Regions from separate parts of the Homo sapiens genome. Here regions 1 and 2 are each linked to region 3. Evidence: promoter capture Hi-C in 16 types of primary human blood cells and fetal thymus (Javierre and others, 2016). All regions are on one chromosome and are shown on one strand. The core of a region is centred on a gene start or on the middle of the fragment in contact, and the rest is flanking DNA. Distances in the headings are between cores, read along the strand shown. Region 1 overlaps FBXO22 (F-box protein 22). Region 2 has its middle 33 kb from the start of UBE2Q2. Region 3 holds the start of TMEM266 (transmembrane protein 266).

Region 1 (4,241 bases), core at 853-3,352, 130 kb after region 3:
GGCTAATCTGTAAACATTTTGTAGAGATAGGGTCTCACTATGTTGCTCAGACTGGTCTCAAACTCCTGGGCTCAAGCAATCCTCCTGCCTCAGCCTCCCAAAGTTCTGGGATTACAGGCATGAGCCACTGCACTCAGAGGATAATTTTAAAAACCTATTAACTCTAGAAGTTTTAGCTTTATGTCTAGTCCACTAGAAAATATGATTATGTTATTTTTTTGTCTTGTTTATTGCTTTGAGTCTAGAGTTCAGCTTAATTTGATGGTAAAAACTCATGCTTTGTTTTTGTTTATATTTGCCTGGTTTTTTTAAAAAATGAAATATCCTTACAAAAGAAAATACAACATTGATAAAAGTAATAAAGCATAATATAGTGAACATCCACTAGGGGATAAACAAGTATTGTATCATGCTTCCAACATCTGAATCTATAAAATGGGCAAGAGTCACTGGATTAGTGAGAAACTAAGACGCAAAAAGGTTAAGTGACTAAAGTAATAAGGCTAGCTAGTAGTAAAACAAGTTTGTGAGGGGCAAAATCCGTCTTCTGAAGTCCTCTGCTGCTCTTAAAACTTTATCACATTTCCTCTTTGGTACAGAATTGTTAATATACATTGTCAATCTTGCCTCAAAGAATTATACATCTTCCTTTTGGGGCACTGGGTCAGTTGGGTTATCTGGACTTTATTAAAATGGAGCCCTCATTTACTCAATGGTTTCTCTTAACCACTGACAGAGTATGAAGACCACATTAAAATTAATGGGTCATGTGAAGAGTAATGATTGGGGTGGGGGGTGTTTCTCTTATTAGGTATAAAAAGTAGATGATATACAAATAGCTACACTTACAAGCTAGCACCTCAGATGTTATAAGTCTGAGTGAGGTATCTGCATTTCAAAGGTAAACTGTATGTTGAATCACCATTGCCCTATCCGTACACAATTTAAGTTAATAGCAAAGACACAGGAAAAATTAGGCAAGAGGGGAAATAACTTAGATAGCCACCAAGAATTCAGTGTATGTATGCACAAAATCCAGTGTTTGATATCCTGCCTGGGATTCAACGTACTTGGCCTTCCTCTCTTCCTCCTCCCTGGCAGTCCAGGGACCTCAACTTTAGCTATTTTCCCAGATCTAGCTCATAGAGATAACCAGAAGAGAGACTATAACTAGGATGACTTACATTATTCTTATAGATACTGATCTGCAACAGTCTGTCCCCATGTCACCACTCTAGGATGCAAATATTAAACAGAGTGGGAAACAAATAGTAGTGTTTACAAGCATTGAGGGTGGGGTAGGGTCTGATTTTCCTGCTGGAAACAAATGATATTTATGTCCACCTAATTGTTTCAAACTCAAAATGATATGTATTTTCATTCAAGATGGAAAGGAAGTAATGGCTCCCAAGACAGAAGAGCAAATATTTTTATCTTTGAAAGCAAAAGCCTTAGTAACAAAAAAGATCCACAATTTTTAAGCTTGAAAAAGCCTTTCAAAAGATCTAATACAGAATTTCCAAAAACCAGTACGACTTGCAAGACATTCTGTGGAAAAAAGTTTTGTGACCAAACACATTTGGGAACTGTCACAGGTAATGCTATTCTCCTTCCAGATTTCCACAGCACTGGGCATATTAGAAGCTCTGAGAAGTTTTGCCATAAAGATACACTCTAACCATGTGTTTCCTTTAAAGGAGGAAACTAGAAAGGAGGTGACACATTGAGGTCACACAGAGTACCACATCTGTCAAAGGAAAGATCAACAGGCAATGTCAAATTTTAAGGAGAATGTGACTCAAGGAAGTTCTTGAAGGACAATATATATAAAAATGTAATTATTCAACCGTAAGCAGAATTATGTTCAGTAAGCCCCTTAGCCAATGTCTACTACAAAATGGAATGAACTATTATCTTAATAATTCTTTAAACACGTTTTTTAAATTGTTAACCCCAAAGTGACAAAACCTGAGACCATTTCCCTTCATTCACAGACGAAATCAGAAGCACACAAGACATACTTTTCAGAAGTCAGTGATGACAGGTTGTCCACCTGGCCTCCAGCCAAGATGATATTCATATCACTGAAAGTGCTGACTACTTGCTGCAGATAATTACTGGCTCCCACCTTACAGCAATTATAACCAAAGACAAGGACCACACGAAGTTCAGGGTTATCTAAAAGACCTGCAGAGAAATGAAGAGCAACAGTTAAAGACAGCCTTAAAACAGAAATTATTTTATACATGCTGCAAAATGAAATGTTACTGACTTGCACTCCACCTTAAGGGCAATTTAGTGGCTTAAGCTATCAAATTTTCCATTTTTTATTTTTTATCTTATTTTATATCCTCTTCGATCTCTGTATCAAGTTTTCCATTTTTTACAAACATTATGCAAAATCTTAATTATTTTTTCTATTAAAAAAACTAAATGGCTATTTGTGTTAATAAATAATGCAATCAACACAAATAATGAAGCAGCTATGTACTGAGCAGCAACTCTTGGTAGACCAAGGTGCAAGCTGGCTCTCAGTAGGGAACAAAAAAAAAAAAACACTGGTTTACACAGAGCTGTGCTAGCAGCAGTGAGAATTTACAGATTTTTTATTTTTTAAAGGAGAGAAAAGGCGCTAACCACTTATAGTGTGGTGAACAGTGCCCCCTGCCCATGCCAAAGGTATATCCACATCAAACCTCTGGAACCTATGCATGTAAGCTTATTTGGAAAAAGGATCTTTAAAAAAAATTTTTTTTTTTTTGGTAGAGATGGGGTCTCGCTATGTTAGTAAGGATCTTAAGATTAAATCATCTGGTCTATCCACGTGGGCTCTAAATCCAATGACAGTGTCCTCATAATGAAAGATGTACAAAGGAGAGACAGAGAAGAAAAGGCAGTGTGACCACAGAAGCAGAAACTGGAGCGGTAGGAAGAGAAAAAGAACAGACTCTCCCCTACAGCCTCCCAAGGTAGCACTACCCCTACTGCCATCTCAATTTCAGACTTCTGGCCTCCTGAACTGTGCAGAATAAATTTCTCGTTTTATGTCACCAAATTTGGGGTACTTTGTTACAGCAGCCTAAGAAACTACTACATCACTGAAATACAGGCTTTATTCACCTCCTCCACGGAAGCAGGTGAGAGTAAAGGCGAATTAGCCTTTGAAAGTTCCTTGCAAAGCAGGAAAATGTTCAATTCTGTGACACAGGAACTAAAAGCTGCTACCGCTAGGAGGTGGCAGAGTGTAACAGAGACAGCCTACTTGCTCTGCCCACAGCTCCCAGGTTTCACTGGAGCCTCTGGCAGCTTGTTTATAGACTATCAATTTGATTTTTTTTTTAAGTTCAGGGATACATGTTCAGGTTTGTTCCACAGGCAAACGTGTGTCATGGGGGTTTGTTGTGCAGATTATTTCATCACCCAGGTAATAAGCCCATTCTCCATTAGTTATTTTTCCTGATCCTCTCCTTCCTCACACCCTCCACCCTCTGGTAGGCCCCAGTGTCTGTTGTGCCCCTCTTTGCGTCGATGTATTCTCATCATTTAGCTCCCACTTATAAATGAGAACATGCAGTATTTGGTTTTCTGTTTCTGTGTTAGTTTGCTAATGATAATGGCCTCCAGCTCCATCCATGTCCCTGCAAAGGACGTGATCTCATTCTTTTTTATGGCTGCATATGTACTACATTTTCTTTATCCAGTTTATCACTGATGGGCATTCAGGTTGATTCCATGTCTTTGCTACTGTGAATAGTGCTGCAATGAACATACATGTGCATGTGTCTTTATAACAGAATAATTTATATTCCTTTGAATATATACCCAGTAATAGGACTGCTGGGTCAAATGGTATTTCTGTCTTTAGGTCTTTGAGGAATCACCACACTATCTTCCACAATGGCTGAACTAATTTACACTCCCACCGACAGTGTATAAGTGTTCCTTTTTCTCCACAAACTTGCCAGCATCTGTTATTTTTTGACTTTTTAATAGCCATTCTGCCTAGTATGGGATACGATCTCATTGTGGTTTTGATTTGCATTTCTCTAATGATCAGTGATGTGGAGCTTTTTTTCCTATGATTGTTGGCCGCATGTATGTCTTCTGCCAGCATTACCAAACGGGTGCTTTGGGGACAGGAAAATGAATCTAATACCTAACACACTTGTGTTTCCATTTGATTTGACCACATGACTTCCACCTTGACAAACCTAAGGTGGTTACCAGAAAGGAGAGTTACT
Region 2 (4,679 bases), core at 822-3,321, 250 kb after region 3:
GGAGGCCGAGGTGGGTGGATCATGAGGTCAGGAGTTCAAGACCAGCCTGGCCAAGATGGTGAAACCTCATCTCTACTAAAAATATAAAAATTAGCTGGGCGTAGTGGCAGGCACCTGTAATCCCAGCTACTCAGGAGGCTGAGACAGGAGAATTGCTTGAACCCAGGCAGCAGAGGTTGCAGTGAGCCAAGATCACACCACTGCACTCCAGCCTGAGTAATAGAGTGAGACTCCATCTCCAAAAAAAAGAAAAGAAAAACCTTCAGGTTTGTTTCTGGACTTCCTATTCTGTTCCATGATTTCTGATCTCTTCTGAATTCTAAAGCTGTTCTATTCCAACAAGGGTCCCCAAATTCTCAGAAATAGAGTTTGCATTGCTTTGGCGATCTCTGTTCAAATTCTTATCTCTTATGTTAGACTGTGAGTTCCCTGAGGGAAGGGTCCTGTCTCACTCCTCTGTGTACCCCAAGAGCCTAGTGTGGTATAATGAAGGAAGGGCACAACAGCACCACGGTGAAGTGAGGAAGCCCCAAGCTTAGGGGCACCAGATTGAGCAAAGAAAACTATAGGATATGCAGTTAACCTACAATATCAGATAAACAGCAAATAGTTTTTTTGTATGAGTATATCCCATGCAATGTTTGGGATATACTTATCCTAAAAGTTATCCAGACATCTCCACTGAAACACTCATCCTCCTCAGACCTCACACCCCTGCTTACCATGAGATCCAAGCTGGAAAACCAGGAATGCATTTTTTACATGCCAAATGCCACAGCTCAAGTTAGAAGCACCCAACTGACTGGGTGTGAGAGTGGGGAATATGGCCTCCTATGCCTGCAGAGGCAGCGTCCCATGCCAAGAAGGGACTGACTCACTGCTGTTCCTCCATAAGGCTCGCTGCCACAACCACTTGCACCATGCGCCATGTCCCTGTCCCATATCCCCATTCCCCAGAGGCCTTGAGCCAAGTGGAGCAGGGCAGACACTGTATGATCCCACAGCTGACTGTTCATAGTCTCTAACCTTTCCTTCTCTTATAAAAGGAAAACAGGGCACTCCTCTGATGCCACCCAGCATGTGATACCCGCCTGGACACATCCAGGAAACACTCAAGCCATGCTGGGGAGGCAGTCATCCTGTTTCTCATGTTTATCCACACACTTCCACAGGGGCTGCAAGTCTACACAACCTAGACACTTGGTCCAAATGGCCCCTAGTTTGTGCCAGGCACAGTGCTAAGCATTTGGGTTACAACGATGAACAAAAACTGGCCTGGTCCTTGATGTTATGGAGCTTACAGTCTAGTAGGGGAGATGGCCATAAATCACGTGATCAAAATTTATTTAATTGAAAAAGTATAAAGAGATATAAGAGCATATAGTGAGGGACCTAATCTGATGGGGTGGGTAGTCAACACCCCAAATAAGGGATATTTGAGAAGGCATTCACTGTCAAAGAGAAGTGTTTCTGGCAGAGAGAACAGCATGTGCAAAGGTCCTGAGGTAGGAGGGAGGGAACCCTCAGGGATCTGAGGTGATAGAGGGAGTAAGAGAGAAAGAATGAAGCAAAAGGTGGCTGCAGAGGCAGGCAGGGGCCAGATCCTGCAGGCCAAGGGTGAGTCAAAGCCATTGCAGAATTTAGCAAGAGAGTGACTTAATAATATTGGGCTTTTAAAGATGAATATGGCTGCAATACCAGAATGGCTGGTTGGAAGAGGCCAAAGTGGAAGCTACTGGGGATGTCTGTGTAAGAGCTGACAGTGACCTTGTGGTGGAAATGGGGCACAAGAGAGGGAGACTGTGCTGGGCTTCATCATGGTTGAATGCAGGAGAGAAAGGAAGTATCAGGGAGATGCTGGCACAACCAGGGAAGACTTTCATCACCCACTGGGTACGGGGGAGGGTGGTTAACCTGTGGGGAGAAGCAGGGCACTTATCCAGGGTGGAAAAGAGAGAGAGTGAGGAGAAGGAGCAGGAGTAAGAGAGCTAAAGCTGAGAACTCAAAGGACCAAGGAGAAGCTACAGGGCCAGCTCACAGAAATGGCGCGGAAGGAACTCACTTGTTGCCCCAGCTTTCTCTCATTTCAGTCTCAAAGAGATCTTGCCGGTTAGGCGGACACTTTCTCCACTTCGCAGGGTAACCAACTATGGATCAGATCTTCTTCTGACATCACAGAGCTGGGACTTGAATGCAAGTCTGTGTAACTACAAAGCCCACACTCTGCTCTCTGCCAGGAGCCCCACTCCTGCCCCGATCCCTGGGCCGATGAGTTATATCGAGGCCTATAGCCAAAATGAAGGCTCAAAGATTCCCCAGCAGGGGAAGAAAGTGGCTGGGTGGGAGGGCTAATTCTCAATTCCTGTAGTTCATTCAGATCCTGGAGCCTGGGGGAATATGGGAAAACCAAGGCAGACACAACGTGGAGAAAGCAAAGGTCAGTATTTCTCTACCCTGGCTGCACAGTGCCATCATCAGGTGAGCTGTGAAAATTCCTGGTGCCCAGGCCATCCCCCACCAATTAGCTCAGAATCTCTAGGGTGGGGCTTGGGCATCAGAATGTTTTCAAGCTCTCCAGGTGATGCCAAGCTCTCCAGGTGCAGCCAGGTTGAGAACCATGGGCATATCAGCCCCTCTCCTGAGACCTACTCTATCTCAGTCTAGACTTATCTTGGAAGGGCCTCCCATAACTGTATTTGGGGCCACACTGCCCAGGATCCCAGCCTAATCTGAGTTTAGGTCCTAATTAAGATCTTTAGAGACCCAAGACACTGCAAAATTATTGTGCAGAGCTCCTCTCTTTCTTTTCTTTCTTTCTTTCTTTCATTCATTCGTTCTTTCTTTCTTCTTTCATTTTCTTTCTTTCTTTGCCTTTCTTTCTTCCTTTTCCTTTTTTTTTTTTTTTTTTTTTTTGAGACAGTTTCTCTCTGTCATCAGGCTGGAGTGCAAAGATGCGATCACAGCTCACTGCAGCGTCAACTTACCAGACTCAGATGAATCTCCCACCTCAGTCTCCTGCACAGCTGGGACCATAGGCACATACCACCACATCTGGCTAATTTTTGTATTTTTTGTAGAGATGGGGTTTCACCAAGTTGCCCAGGATGATCTTAAACTCTTGGGCTCAAGCAATCCTCTGCCTCAGCCTCCCAAAGTGCTGGGATTACAGGCATAAGCCACCACACTCAGCTCCCCTTTTTCTTAAGTAATTCTAAATAAAAACAAGACTAAATTATAAAATAAAATTTGACATGGGCATTTTTGGAGAAATGACACAAAACTTCCATGATAGCTGAAATTAAAATATTTATTTTTGGATTTTCTATTTGTGTGTGCACACAGGTACACACTTGTCCTTGGTTGGTGCCCTATGTGTGTACTTGCTCTATGTAGTAGGTTAATCTGCACAGAGTCTGAAGGCACAATTTTCAGTAAACGAAAGCTCTACATAGCACAATTTCCAAGCAGTTGAGACTGAAGCAGCAGTCTCCTTCTGGGTTTAATTTGAATTAACTCATTATGTCAGAGGTTGCAAATGTTTTTCTGTGAAAAATCAGACCTTGGCGATGACACTGAGCAGTAGGATATAAATAACTCCACAAGCTTAGCGTTCCAGTAATGGAACGCTAAGCATAAATGTGTAAACTGCCAGGATGTACTTGTGCAGGAAACTGACAATTTTCAGCAAGAAATCTTCAGATGAGGCTTGTCACTCTCCAGTGTAACTCTAGGGCCTGCTTGGCAGGGGGACCAGCTTTGGCTGGAGGCTGGGTCAAAACGGCGGCCCTGGGATGGCACCTTCCCATCCCATGGAGGGAGCTCTGTTGGGAACATGAGACAGACCAAGAAGACTCATCCATTAGGAAAGCGGCCCTTGGCCTGTCCGGTTTTAATGGAGGAGGGTGCTTGGTGCAATGACCACTTCTGATGGGGAAACTAGTTGAAGACATGGGCATTGTCTTTCCCATGTGTGCCCCACTGGGAGCCTAAACTTGATGGGTGAAAAGTTCCAAGAGATGAATCAAGAGCACTATATATATCTCGGCCGTCCAGGCTGGGCTCCTCCCACCACCCCTCAGTCCTGCCCTCTGGAACCCTTAGCAGGCTGGCAGAAGCCCTTTTTGGGGTCCAGACTTATGACCAGGATGCCTATGGCTTCCTAACCCCCAGGTAGGGCAGCCTAGTGTAAAGATCCTGAAAGCAGGAGAACAGCAATTGATCAAGTGAACCCAAGATAGGACTAAAACTGTCTCTGATGGCAAAACCTTTGATGACGAAGAGTCTGGCCCATAGAAAGATGGCCCTGAGCATGGCACCTCTGACCAAATCCCTCACTCTGACCTACTGAGCGTATGAGCCCAGCCTTGCTCACAGTCGGGGCTGGAGGGAGACCTCATGGAGGCCACTCGATACCTGCACTTCCTGTGTGCCTGTCACTGCTGATTCCACCCACACCGTCCTCTGCCCCAGCCAGCTCAGCCCTGCCATACCCTGCCATTACAGTCCGGGCTCTTTGGATGTGAGTGACAGAAAATTCACTGGCTTAGGCAAGAAGGGAAGCTCATTGGTCAGTAAGTTAGCCATGGGCAGGACAGGGAACAGCTGGGCCTCAGGAATACCTGGACTCAGAATCACCAGCGCTGTTAGGATTTGCAGGCTCCTTCCCTTGTCTCTGTCTC
Region 3 (4,233 bases), core at 298-2,797:
AAGCTTGATTTTAATGAAAAGGTACACGGAGCAGCCGCACCTGGAGGAAAAGCCCCCTCAGGGCTCCCCACCTCCAGTATCCCCATGTGCTTGAGTTTGCATCCTTACCCTGTCCCTGACTGTGTGACCTTGGGCAAGTTAGTTAACCTTTCTAAGTCCTGGCTTGTTCATCTTCAACATGGACATAGCAGGTTTGCTGTGAGGACTAAATGAGCTCATACACAAATAGTTTTAGCTCAGTACCTGGTACATATGAACATTTAAGAAACATGTCCTTCTCGTGATTAGATGTGACACTCTGACCATTTTAGAAGCAATTACGGTTCAGCTATCATATCCCAACATCTTGTGATAACCATTTTCATTTTTTGCTTCTAGCTCTTACTATTCTTTTCATCACAATATTTTAGGGTGGAGGTATTTGGGGGAGGAGGTAAGCAGTTATATACATCCCATTTTCCCACTGTTGTTCAAAGCAAGGTGAAAAGCCAGGGAAATAAACACATGCACTGAAGAGAAATTCAGTCTTTAGGATATGATGTGATAGGTGTATGGAATATAAACAAATCATATAATTTCAACCTCTCACATATAGGGCATCAAATCATAGGTAGGTCTTATTTTAAAAGAAAAGCCAAGCAGCATTAAAGAGGATAGAGGGAACCCATATGGGCCTATTGCTAGCTCAGTATTGGTGACTGTGAAACAGGGATGGGTGAGCTAGATTACGGGGGTGTTTCATGGGGTCTGACTTCCAACAGGTGGCTAGCTTTAGTCATGTTCAGATGCAAAACCGTAATGAGTTTGAGTATGCAAGTCCCAGGGATTCTGTTGAAGGCCATCTTTTCTCGGCCATCAAGGGAGACAATTTTCTAGGTTTAAGCCTCCCTGGCAAGTTAGCAAGCAGGGAACTGCCTGCCCTAGCTTGCACCTGTCCCCTGAAGGGGATTCTGGCCTGACGGTGAAGACCCACCATCCCTTCCAGACAGCCCATTCTGCCGCTGGGGCACCTCCCGACAAACGGGGGAAGCCCACTAGGAAGTGGTCACGACCAACCAAGCCACAAATCCTCAGGGTGTGGGATTTCCACCTCTATACCACGTCTGAAAACCGAAAATAGGCGCCCGCTTGCCATACTGCAATGGGATTCCCCCCAGCAGCAACCCCCCCCTCCAGCTTGCATGTTTTATTAATAAATGCAAGATGGCACACGGAGGCAAAGAATGGGAGGTAAGGCATCTGCAGCTGGACCCGAACCAGGGCAGTTTGCAAAAATAAATAAGAAGCATGTGACAAGAAGCAGGTCTCCAGGCTGGAGCTGAAGCCCTGGGCTGCCCCACGCACCCTCGCCTGGCTCCCCCGGCCAGGGGGATGAAGGTCAGCGGCAAGATCCCAGCCCTTCCGAGCACGCATCCTGCAAACCTTGACCGGTCCCCCCACCCCCCGCCCCGACCACAAGACTCGGGCAGTGAGGCAGGGGAAGCTCTGGCCGCGGCCGGCTGCGAGGACACATACCTGCTGCCCGGGCTCGGGATTCGCTCGGCTCTGCAGCGGCGCCGGCCGCGGCTCGCGCTCCCGGGGCTCCCCTCTCCGCCCCCCCGCCCCCTCGCGGCCCCGCCGCTCCCTCCGCCCCTCCGCCCACCGCGCTCGGGGGCGCGCGCGAGGCCTCGCGCCGGCGGCTTGGCCGAGCCCGCGCCTGCGCCCTCGCCTCCCGCCGGCCGCGCGCGCGCGCCCCCGAGGCTGCGGAACGGCGGCGCGGCTGTCTAGGAAACCGCGGCGTCGGCTGGCAGGGGCTGGCGGCCTGAGCTGGGCAGGGGGCGGAGGCGGGGGCTCGGCTGTCTCCGGGGCTGCCACGCAGAGCGGGCTTCGTGGCGTGGGTGAGGGGGTCGCGGGGCAGGGTCGGGGCCTGAGTGCGAGCGTGTGGAGAGGCGAGGGGGCCGCGAAGGGTGGGTTTGACGGGGACGCAGGCGGGGCGCAGAAGCAACAAGTGCGGAGGCCGAGGGCGTCGCTCGGGGAAGCGGAGGACCCCCGCGGGATTTCGTACAGCTGAGAATGGGAACCTCCCGTCGCTTTGGCGCAGCGCTTTGCAGTTTCCAGAGCTCTTTCCCAGTTGCTCCGTTTCATCCGCGCGGGGCGCCCGGTGAGGGAGCGGATGGCACGCAGTGCCCGCTGCGCTTGGAGGCCACCGAGGGGAAAACACCTCTTTCTGTGTGGCCGGAGTCATAGCACGGTCAGAGTGCCTTGACTCTCAGTTGGCTGCCTGGGAGAAAAATACCTGTCAGTACATTCATTTGATGGCCTCAGCTCAGGACCCTTGTAGGACCGTGTTTCTCCTCTTTTTCCGTTTTTCGTTATCTGACTCTTAAAAAGGCTTTTTACACGTCCCCATCTCCTTTCCCCGTGAAATCCCAGTACCGCAGATACACTGTCGACCTGCTTATGTGCTGTATGTGTTATCCGTGCTTGATGCATAAAAAGTAACATTGCGCCCCTTGGAGGCAGCATCGCCCCGGTGGAGAAGCCTGTCCTAGGGCCATGATTGCCAGTTACCGGGTGGGTTAAACGGAACCACTGAGCAATCTGGATGCACCCACAGATATTCTCTGTGGTTAAAAAAAAAGTCCTCACCCATAATGGGTACTACTCTAATTAATGTTTGCAAGGGCTGCTGTGAATACGGCCATTTAAGCAGCTTCTGGATTCATAGTAGCTTATTATCGTTTGTCTTCTCCACCAATTCTTGCTAAAAATATAGCCATTTTCCTATAGGGTGTTGCGATTTTTATCTTAAAATATTTGAAAAGATGGGAAACCCTTGTTTCTAGGACACGGAGTTTCAGAATGGCTTTTGGCTCTGCAGATAGGTTTGATTTCTGATTCTTGTACCTCTTCTAAAGTGTTTTTATTTGATTAGGTCCAGTTGGCCTCCCAGGAATGTCCTTTGTCTTTTCTTCCTGCCGTAGCTTTTTTAGTATGGATAAAATGAAAATGGTAGAGTTGAAGGACTTCAAAACCACCTCTTGGAATTGCCCCACGGTCTTGGACTACCTTCCCTGGATTATACGGGAATATCTATACAGGGAGTATCTACTTTTGGCAAACTGAGAAAAAAATGTAAAATTTCTTCAGATCCTCCTTCGCCTTTCAGCATTTCCTACTCATCTCTAATCTCTAATGGTGGAATTTCAGAGGAAGAAACACTTGGAGATGATACTTGTGGAAGCTACCTGGGTTGCCAAAGGATTTTTCTACATTTCTAGACGGAAGAAATGTGGACTAGAATAGAGAAAGTGGAGATGGGTTAAGAAAAATTAATGGAGGATGCACGGGAGGGGAGCTATAGTTTTCTGACAGTCAGTGACAGCATTTTAACTAGGTACACTTTCTTTAGAAAAAGCTTTGGCATAGCTTGCCCAGATTGTTATCCACTCCATTTTCCACCTTAGTAGAACTCTACTTAAGATTTGATTGAAACTATTGAGAAGCATCCAGTTATAACGCTAATTAACTCTCAGAGTACGACAAGTATTTTGAAACTTGCTGAGAGAAATTTGAAGACCACTTCAAATTTCTACCAGGAATCTTTGTATCCTAATAAAATTTTTTTGAATTCGGGTTCATGCGACTTCAAGGGAACATTTTTTTCTACAATGGCTATTTATAGTATAATAGCCATTGTAGAAAATATTTATATTTATAAATATTTATATTATGTATTTATAATATAATAGCCATTGTATTGAAAATTACATGCTAATAAAGTTTACGTGTGTCTTAAGTGTTCTGGGTTTTGTCCTTTTCTGAGTAATCCGAGTTAATGGAAATTGTAGGTGCAACCATTTCATGTTGTAGTGTGAAGTCAAAAATCCCAAAACATGTATAATTTGTCAACTCTATGCTGCCCCCTGGTGATGTCTTACTTCACAGCACCTCCCCAAACTAAAATCTCCCTTCGATAAATTTTTTAGGGTATTGAAAACTTAAGTGTGGACGAGATGCCATTCTGCATTCTTCAAACTGGGCCTTCTCTTGTTTTCAAATACCCTGAGGCCTAACACCGGAGGAGGATTAGCCCTTGAGGCTGATGAGGCTAGAGGAACTGTGAAGATCTGCCACAGATCTCACTTTCACTTGGAGCATTATTCTTGAACTTAACTGGCTTATAAGACTCACTTGGGAACACTTGCTTAAAATCAGATTCTGTGAGTCATAAATTCAGCTGATTAGAAAAAA

Evidence for each region. The method cuts DNA at HindIII sites, captures the fragments that hold promoters and counts their contacts. A CHiCAGO score of 5 or more calls a contact.
Region 1: a contact is called between a fragment that was not itself captured here and the fragment with the promoter of TMEM266 in region 3, in 1 of 17 cell types (megakaryocytes). The highest score is 5.7, in megakaryocytes.
Region 2: a fragment that was not itself captured here is called in contact with the fragment with the promoter of TMEM266 in region 3 in 1 of 17 cell types (endothelial precursors); the score reaches 6.1 in endothelial precursors.

Annotation. Positions count from the first base shown.
Region 1 is chr15:75,927,830-75,932,070 of GRCh38, reverse strand. It overlaps FBXO22 (F-box protein 22), which reads right to left. Exons shown (of 7, transcript NM_147188.3): 6 at 2,022-2,187. Among named protein-coding and RNA genes, the nearest start is that of FBXO22, 26 kb to the right of the region's middle. The HindIII fragment of the contact is 1,236 bases long and covers 1,485-2,720 here.
Region 2 is chr15:75,807,953-75,812,631 of GRCh38, reverse strand. No RefSeq gene overlaps it. Among named protein-coding and RNA genes, the nearest start is that of UBE2Q2, 33 kb to the left of the region's middle. The HindIII fragment of the contact is 3,069 bases long and covers 537-3,605 here.
Region 3 is chr15:76,057,299-76,061,531 of GRCh38, reverse strand. It overlaps TMEM266 (transmembrane protein 266), which reads right to left and starts at 1,547. Exons shown (of 11, transcript NM_152335.5): 1 at 1,516-1,547. It also overlaps a transcript of NRG4 not described here. RefSeq lists a silencer at 2,505-2,554 and an enhancer at 4,038-4,087. The HindIII fragment of the contact is 3,394 bases long and covers 6-3,399 here.